2 separate regions of the Homo sapiens genome follow, and region 2 is linked to region 1. Evidence: promoter capture Hi-C in human tissues and cell types (Jung and others, 2019). All regions are on one chromosome and are shown on one strand. Each heading gives the region's core, a stretch centred on a gene start or on the middle of the fragment in contact. The rest is flanking DNA. Distances are from core to core; before and after follow the strand shown. Region 1 holds the start of GREM1 (gremlin 1, DAN family BMP antagonist). Region 2 has its middle 38 kb from the start of RYR3-DT.

The links. Contacts are between HindIII fragments. The study calls those that stand out against the background at their distance.
Region 2: a contact is called between a fragment that was not itself captured here and the fragment with the promoter of GREM1 in region 1, in 1 of the 25 tissues and cell types used here (spleen).

Annotation. Positions count from the first base shown.
Region 1 is chr15:32,715,253-32,719,786 of GRCh38, forward strand. It overlaps GREM1 (gremlin 1, DAN family BMP antagonist), which reads left to right and starts at 2,752. Exons shown (of 2, transcript NM_013372.7): 1 at 2,752-2,909. GREM1-AS1 (GREM1 antisense RNA 1) reads right to left here and starts at 3,613. Exons shown (of 2, transcript NR_109767.1): 1 at 3,293-3,613; 2 at 2,849-3,112. RefSeq lists enhancers at 2,258-2,758, 2,896-3,474, 3,475-4,052. The HindIII fragment of the contact is 12,229 bases long and covers 1-4,534 here.
Region 2 is chr15:33,270,632-33,275,414 of GRCh38, forward strand. No RefSeq gene overlaps it. Among named protein-coding and RNA genes, the nearest start is that of RYR3-DT, 38 kb to the right of the region's middle. The HindIII fragment of the contact is 3,414 bases long and covers 1-2,987 here.

The DNA of each region.
Region 1 (4,534 bases), core at 1,502-4,001:
TAAAGGTCTTCAAAGTTATTCTCCAAACCTGGGGAGTAGCCCTCTTTTAGCTTCTTGGGGTTACAGAGAGGCTAGCACATTCCAAACACAGGTGGGCAAAAAAAGAGGAAATGGACTTTACTTTTACGAACCAGTGGCTGAGCAGAATCTACTCTTCTCACAACCTCAAAGTAGTTTGAAAGTACTTTCATTAAATAAAATTAATCATTTAGTGATCGTGGTTTAGGCATCATGGTTTAGGCATGACTACATCGAGTCATTCTACTTCTTCTCCCCTTACTAAAAGCAGGTTTTAGTTATGTAACCATGTTTAGAGCGGTCTAGGGAGTTTTTATCCTTATGCCTTCCTCCTGATTGGACAATGGTTTGCAAGAACTTGTTAGGAGCTGTGGAAACACAAATATTGGGCAAAAAACTTGTGTTTCTATATAAATATTTACAAACATACTAGACTATAAATTCTTTGAGGTGAGGGCCTGTGTTTATCCTATCCACGATGGTTATACCCTCAGCATTTGGTTCAGCTGACAATCTTAGTGGGAATGTGCTCAACATTCTCAATCCACAACTATTTATTGAATCTGAGTGCTGTGTTAGACAATCTATATTCTATGTGCTTCATGTAATCAAAGTGACCTAGACAAAATCCCTGCCCTTATGAACCTTACATTCTAGTGGCAGGAAATACTATAATGCCAGGGAGAAGGGAGAGAGAAATGAGAATGAAGAAAAATGATGCAGTGATGCATAGCCCTCTCTATCTCTTTGGGATACAGAGAGGGGGCGTGTGTTGTGGGGAGGAGGTGGGGGCTCTATTATAAAAAATATGGCCTGAGAAACTGCATGAGGAAGAGTCATCATGATTTGATACATGGAGATAGAGAAAACCACAGTGTCAGGGCTCCAAAAAAAAAAAATCACTTCCATTTTGGGAGGTAATTTCAGCTTCTTTGTATTTGATTTGGGGCAGTATATAAGTCTTGGGAAAAAAAGAAGTGACTAAAGCTTTTATTTTAGATGAGGAGGACTTAATGAATTTGTAAAATATGCTCCCTTTTGTGGGGAGAAGTACAGCAGTTTGCACGTTGGGAGAACAGCTGGCTCCAATACAGCTTGGTGGTGGGCTTCGACTGAACTGGTCATCGCCTAAGTATTTTGTGTATTTCTGATTACCTATCTCTCCAGGAGCCCACGTGAGCAAGACAGGTCTTCAAGCTGGTTCAATGCTCCCATTCTGTAGGCAACTACAAACTGTGGCTCACTGCATGACTTAACAACAACTGATTGAGAATTGTAAAGTGCAGCCTCGAGTTCATGTGTAGAAACTGCCATCTGCACAAACAAAACATTGAGAGGACTAAGATTTTAAGGATACTAATGCAGACGTCCTTCTTGCTTCATTTATTTAAAAATATCTATTTCACGTTCCTAACAGCATCTAGTAGATGTTTCTTGCTTCTTCCCCCTAACGCCGGACTAAAGAGAAAAAAAAAATAGGCTGTTTTCTGGTCTGGTTTTGTTTTCCTAGTCAAGTACTTAAATTACGGGTGTTTCGTAAGTATCTTTTGATGGATTTCATTGTTTTGTTTATTTCGCGTTAGACAATACAGACACCTTCATATTTCCTTCTGTAGCAAATCTTTTTCAAAGTCTTCATTTGACGTGGCTGATGGAGCTGGTCTGCAGATCTTGCAGACGTGTTAATTTTTGCACGGACTTTAGCTTCAACACACAAAACTTACGGCCTCTTTGAGGAACCAATTTTTCAGGCTAAGAGAACAAATGAAAGTGTTCGCTCATCTTTCGAAAACTATTTATGTACTTGGTATCCGGAATGTGACATTGGTTTTACACGTCGGTAGGTTTTTGTCCTAAATTTCTGGGAAGTTACTTCCTCATCTAACGTTTTATTTTCCTGACTTATTCGTCTTTGATATGCTACAGAAAACCCCTCTCGCCCAGTGGCTGTTTTCTCTCTGTCTCTTAAGATAATTTAGGAACAGAAGCCTTGACTTTTGACGGTCATTTAGTTTTATTCTCCTCCCGTGACTCCCCTCTGTACACTCACAGGGGAGGCCGCCGGCATCTGGGCTGAAAGAACCCTTGGCGGGCGAGGAGAGCAGGGTGTCATGTTGGCGACAGGCTCCTGCTGGCGGCCAGCGAGCCCGCCAGGTTAACGGGGGCGCCGGGGTCAGCGCCCTCGAAGTTGGGGGCCTCGGGCGGGGCCGCCGGGGAGCCACGACGGCCGCTCGACCAGAGCATCCCGCAGTCCCGTTCCCTCCAGAGGGGAAGAATGGCCGAATCTGGCACGATCCCACGGAGATCTCGCTCTTCCCAGCGCAGTCTCCGCTACTGAGCGCGGGACCAACGCAGGCGATGCCGGGCGGCCGACAGGGAAAGCCCAGACCTGGGGCAGAGAAGGAATGAGGGGCCGCCAGCCGGGGGGATTTCCTCCCGCTCTTCCCTCTCCAACGGGAGCGGAAAATGTGATTTGCTGTGCATTCCAGGCGCGGTTCCCTGGGGTGACCTCTCCCAGCCGGCCCGGGCGGGGGGAGCAGACAAAGAGGCGAGGCGGGCGGAGAGGGGACCCCGCGGGGAAGCAGGAGGGGTGCGGGGGGCGGGGGCAGTACCGGGAAAGGGGGCGGATAGCGGGTCTGGCGGCGGCGGCGGCGCCTGGCCAATGGAGAGGCGCGGCCCCGGGCGCCGCGCTCTGCCGCCGGCATTTAAACGGGAGACGGCGCGATGCCTGGCACTCGGTGCGCCTTCCGCGGACCGGGCGACCCAGTGCACGGCCGCCGCGTCACTCTCGGTCCCGCTGACCCCGCGCCGAGCCCCGGCGGCTCTGGCCGCGGCCGCACTCAGCGCCACGCGTCGAAAGCGCAGGCCCCGAGGACCCGCCGCACTGACAGGTGAGCGCGGACGCACCCGGCAGGGATGTGAGTGGGCGGAGGGAAGAGGGCCGCAAACCAACCCAGGACCCGCTCAGTTCCACGCGCGGCAGCCCTCCGTGCGCGCAGGCTCGGGTGCGTTGTTCGCGGGGGTGAATTGTGAAGAACCATCGCGGGGTCCTTCCTGCTGAGGCCGCGGACACCGTGACCTCGCTGCTCTGGGTCTGCAGGGAAACGTAGGAAAAAAAGTTGTCAGGAGCGGGCAGGATGACCCCCACATCCCGTTTCCACCTCCCGGAGGCCCCCGAACACGCTCCTGGTGCTGGTGGCAGCAGCGCCTGGCAGACGCGCCCGCTTAGCGAGGGCGCGAAGTCCAGGCCGCCAGAGCGCAGGAGCATCCGGACCTGCTAGTCGGCCGCTGACTGCGCGGCGAGTTGCCTTGAGAGGGTCCCATGTGCTTGGGGCGCCGCGCTGGGTCTGGGGGCGTCTTGGGGCGCCCATTGGAGTCCGCGGGTTGGAGCATCCGGAGAATCCATGATGTGTGCATTTGCCGATCCCCGAGGTGAGATGGAGACTGGCAAGGGCAGAGCCGCTGTGTTCAGCCACAGCGGAAAACCGAACGGTGGGTAATCCGACAGCTGCGGTGCGGGGCGCGGCCCTGGCCGCGGGGTCCAGCGAACCCGCAGTGCTCACAAGGCAGACACCACACGCGCTCGCGGACCGGCCACGCACTCGCGGGCGCTCGCTTCTCTACTCCAGCCTCTTCCCCGCCCCGCGCACGCCCGGGCTGAATGGTAGACGTTCTGGCGCCGGGCAGCGGCCACCGGCTGGTTCCCACTTCCGCGCGCACCCCTTAAACTGTGTTCTAGAGGCCCCAGCCTCGCCTTGCAGCGCCTCACTAGCTCCTGAGGACTAGGGACTGGCGGCTGAGGCGGGTTGGCGGCTGCAACGAGCTGGGCGTCTTTCGTTCTCTCTCGCTGCCTGGCTGGCTCCGCTGGCCCCTCCACAGCTTGCGGAGCAAGGCCATAGCAGGGGAGTGGGAGGTATATTGGGGCTGTCACCTCCTTGCTGGCCGGAGTTATTTGTAGACTACAGACTCCGGAAGAACAGACGCGCCACCGCTCTCGCTTGGCATTGCCTTCGGATCGCAGCTCCTCCTTGGGGGTGCCCCAGCTTGGCGTTTATTTGCCTGCGCCAGGCTCTGGCGACGGTCACCGGGCCAGGCGGGGAGGGACGGACGGCAGGTGACCAGCCTCTGCTGTGAAGAAATTCCTGCGCGCCCGGAGCTGTCCCTAATGCATTCCCGGGTCGAATCCGTCTACTGCCTTCCCCTCCTCGACCGACTCCGAATCTCGGCTCTTATAGACAGAAATACAGCCTCAGCGTTAGGGGTTAAAATCCCCCTCTTAAACGGTCCGAGGGCAGAGAGGTGACCACCGATAGGTAATTGGATCTCCTGCTGGAAAGAGCAAATCTGAGCGGTGTGCGCGTCTGTTTATGTTCCCCTTCGAGATGGTGCCAGGACACGAACTGATTAAAACAATCTATTGTGTTAAGTGGGTCACTAGGGTTTTAAGCTGTCCCAGGGACCCCAGAGTAGTGGCTTCCTTCTGGCTGTACACACAAGTTAAATAAATAGCGTAGAA
Region 2 (4,783 bases), core at 31-2,530, 550 kb after region 1:
TTGTTGAATTCAGTTTGCTAGTAATTTTGTTGAGGATTTTTGTATCAATATTCATCGGAAATCTTGGCCTTTAGTTTTATTTATTTATTTTTAATGTGTCTTTGATTTTGGTATCAGGGTAACTCTGGTCTCACAGAATGAGTTTGGAAGTATTTCCCTCTCCTCTATTTTTTGAAACAGTTTGAATAGGATTGGTATTAGTTCTTCTTTAAATGCTTGGTAGAATTCAGCAGTGAAGCTGTCAGGTCCCAGGCTTTTCTTTACTGGGAGACTTTTTATTAAAGCCTCAATCTTGTTACTGTTATTGATCTCATTAGGCTTGAATTTCTTCCTGGTTAAATCTCGGTTAGGTTGTGTGTATCTAGGAATTTGTTCATTTCTTTTAGATTTTCCAATTTATAGGCATATAGTTGCTCATCATAGCCACTAATAATCATTTGAATTTCTGCAATATCAGTGTAATGTCTCCTTTTTCATTTCTGATTTTATTTATTTGGATCTTCTCTCTTTTTTTCTTAGTCTGGCTAAAGGTTTGTCAATTTTGTTTAACTTTTCAAGAAACCAACTTTTTGTTTCATTGATTTTTGTATTGTTTTTTCATTTTAATTTCATTTACTTCTGCTCTGATCTTTATTATTTCTTTTCTTCTAATTTTGGGTTTAGTTTGCTCTTGATTTTCTTGTTTTTAATATGCATTGTTAGGTTGTTTGTTTGAAGTTTTCTCTTTTTGGATGTAGGCACTTATAACGATAAAATTCCCTCTTAGAACTGCTGTATCCCGTAAGTTTTGGTATGTTGTGCTTCCATTATCATTTGTTTCATGAAATTTTTAAATTTCCTTCTTGATTTCTTTATTGACTGGTCATTCAGGAGTATATTGCTTAATTTCCATGTTTCTTTTTTATAGTTTCCAAGATTCCTCTTGTCATTGATTTCTAGTTTTTCTAGAGAAGAAGCTTGATATTACTTCAATTTTTTGAATGTTTTAAGACTGTCTTGTGACCTCGCAAATGGTCTATACTTGAGAATGATCCATGTGTTGAGGAAAAGAATATGTATTCTGCAGCTCTTACATGAAATGCTCTGTAAATATCTATTAGATCCATTTAGTCTATAGTGCAGATTAAGTCTGATGTTTCTTTGTTGATTTTCTGTCTGGAAAATCTACCCAATGCTGAAAGGGGGATGTTGAAGTATCCAGCTATTATTGTATTGGGACCTATCTCTCTTTTTGGCTCTGATAATAGTTCCTTTACATATCCAGGTGCTCCAGTATTGGGTGTGTGTGTGTATGTGTGTGTGTGTGTGTATGTGTGTGTGTGTGTGTGTGTGTGTGTGTATATATATATATATTTTTTTTTTTTTTTAGTTGGAGTCTTGCTCTGTCACCTAGGCTAGAGTGCAGTGGTGCAATCTTGGCTCACTGCAACCTCCACCTCCTGGGTTCAAGTGATTCTCCTTTCTCAGCCTCCCAAGTAGCTGGGATTACAGGCACATGCCACCACACCCAGCTAATTTTTGTATTTTTGGTAGAGAGGGGTTTTCACCATGTTGGCCAGGCTGGTCTCGATCTCCTGACCTCAGGTGATTTGCCCACCTCAGCCTCCCAAAGTGTGTGCCTCACAAAGGTGTGAGCCACTGTGCCTGACCGGGTGCATGTGTATTTAAAATTATTATACCCTCTTCCTGAATTGACTCCCTTATCATTATAGAGTGACCTTTGTCTCTTCTTGTTGTTTTTATCTTGAAATCTATTTTGTCTGATATAAGTATAGTGACTCCTGCTCTTTTTTGGTTGCCATTGGCATGGAATATCTTTTTCCATCCCTTTCTTTTCAGTCTGTGTGTGTCTTCATAGGTGAAGTGTGTCTTGCAGGCAACAAATCAATGGGTCTTGTTTTTTCATCCATTTAGTTGGTCTGCGTGTTTTGATTGCAGAGTTTGGTCCATTTGCATTCAATGTTATTATTGATAAGTAAGGACTTACTCCTGTCATTTTATTCTTTGTTTTCTAGTTGTTTTGTGGTCTTTTCTTCCTTTTTTCTTTCCCTCCTGTCTTCCTCTAGTGAAGGTGATTTTCTCTGGTGATGTGATTTAGTTTCTTGCTTTTTATTTTTTGTGCATCCCTTATATGCTTTTTGCTTTGATGTTACCATGAGGCTTGCAAAGATTATCTTATAACCTGTTGTCTTAATGTGATAACAACTTAGCATTATTTGCATAAGCACACAAACCAGCAAAAAGAAAACTAATAACTATATGCCTTAACTTCATCCCCCCCACTTTTTAACTTTTTGTTGTTTCTATTTATATCTTATTGTACTGATTATGTCTTGAAAAGTTGTTGTAGTCATTATTTTTGACTGGTTCATTATTTAGTCTTTCTACTTAGGGTAAGAATAGTTTATACACCACAGTTACAGTGTTATAATACTCTGTGTTTTTCTGTGTACTTACTATTGCCAGTGTGTTTTGTAACTTCCAGTGATTTTTTATTGCTCGGTAATGTTCTTTTCTTGCTGACTGAAGTATTCCCTTTAGCATTTCTTGTAGGACAGGTATGGTACTGATGAAATCCCTCAGCCTTTGTTCATTTGGGAAAGTCTTTATTCTCCTTCATGTTTGAAAGATATTTTCACTGGACATACTATTCTAGATTAAAAGTGTTTTTTCTCCTTCAGCATATTAAATATGTCATACCACTCTTTCCAGGCCCATAAAGTTTCCACTGAAAACTCTGCTGCCAGATGTATTGGAGCTCCATTGTATGTGATTTGTTTCTTTTCTCTTGCTACTTTTAGGCTCATTTCTTTATCTTTGACCTTTTGGAGTTTACTAATTAAATTCCTTGAAGTAGTCTTTCTTGGGTTAAATCTTCTTGGTTTAAGATGTGTTCCATAACCTTCCTGTACTTGGATATTGATATGTTTCTCTAGGTTTGGTATATTCTCTGTTATTTTCCCTTTGTTTTGTTTGTTTGTTTATTTGTTTTGATGGAGTCTTGCTCTGTTGCCCAGGCTGGAGTGCAGTGGTGCAATCTCAGCTCTCTGCAACTTCCTCCTCCTGGGGTCAAGCGATTCTCATGCCTCAGCCTCCCAAGTAGCTGGGATTATGGAAACACGCCACCACGCTAAGCTAATTTTTGTATTTTTAGTAGAGATGGGGTTTCACCATGTTGGCCAGGCTGGTCTTGAACTCCTGACCTCAAGTGATCCAAATGCCTTGGCCTCCCAAAGTGCTAGGATTGCAGGCGTAAGCCACCATGCCTGGCCAGTTATTTTCCCTTTGAATAAACTTTCTAATCCTACCTCTTTATCTACCTCCTCTTTAAGGCCAATAACTCTTAGATTTGCCTTTTGAGGCTATTTTCTAGATACTGTAGGTGTGATTCATGGTTTTTTATTCTTTCTTATGTCTCCTCTGACTGTATTTTCAAATAGGCTGCCTTCAAGCTCACTACTTCTTTCTTCTGCTTGATCAATTCTGCCACTAAAGGACTCTGATGCATTCTTCAGTATGCCAATTGAGTTTTTCAGCTCCAGATTTTCCCCTTGATTCTTTTTAATTATTTTAATCTCCTTGTTAAATTTGTCTTCTGAATTCCTTCTTTGTGTTATCTTGAATTTCTTTGAGTTTCCTCAATACAGCTATTTTGAATTATCTTTCTGAAAGATCACACATCTCTGTTTCTCCAGGATTGGTCCCTGGTGCCTTATTTAGTTCATTTGGTGAGGTCATGTTTTCCTGGATTGTGTTGATACTTGTAGATGTTCTTCAGCATCTGGACATTGAAGAATTAGTTATTTATTTTGGTCTTCACAGTCTGGACTTGTTTGTGCCCGTCCTTCTTGGAAAGGTCTTCCAGGTGTTTGAAGGGACTTGACTGTTGTGTTCTAAGCTGTAGCTGTTTTAGGGGGAACCCCAAGCTCGCTAGTGCTGTGATTCTTCCAGACTCATAGAGGTACCACCTTGATGGTCTTGGACATGATCCAGGAGAATTCTCTGGATTACCAGGCAGAGGCTCTTGCTCTCTTCCCTTACTTTCTTCCAAACAAAGTCTCCCTCTGTGTCCTGAGCCACCCGAAGCTAGGGATGAAGTGACACAAGCACCCCTGTGGCCACCACTACTCTGACTGTGCTGCATCATACTGGAAGGCAGCACAGCACTGGGTCTTGCCCAAGTCCTGCTGTAACCACTCCCTGGCTACTGCTTATGTTCATTCAAGGCCCTGGGGTTTTATGATCAACAGGTAGCAAAGCCAGCCAGAGCCGGGTCTTTCCCTTCAGGGTGGTGAGTTCCCCTGGGCCCTGGGTAGGTCAGTAGATGCTGTCCAGCAGCCAGGGACTACAGTCAAAACCACTAGAAGTCCACCTGGTGTTCTACTGTACTGTGGCTGAGTTGTCACTCAAACCACAAGACACAATCCACTCTTTCCTCCACTTTCCAAAAGTAGAGGAGCCTTACCCATGGCCACTGCCACCACAGGCCCACAGGAAATACTGTGAGATTACTGCTGATGTTCCCTTAAGGCCAAGGACTTTTCAATCAGCTTGTGCTGAATGCTGCCTGACCTGGGACTCACCCTTCCAGCAGGCTCCCCTCTGACCCAGGGCAGGTCCAAGAATGCTGTCCAAGAGCCGAGTCCTAGAACTGAGGATGCCAAGAGCCCATTTTGTGCTCTACATTCCTATGGCTGAGCTGGTACTTAAGATGCAAGACAAAGTCCCCTTTACTTTTCCCTCTGCTTTTCTCAAATGGAAGGAGCCTTGACCAAAGCCACCA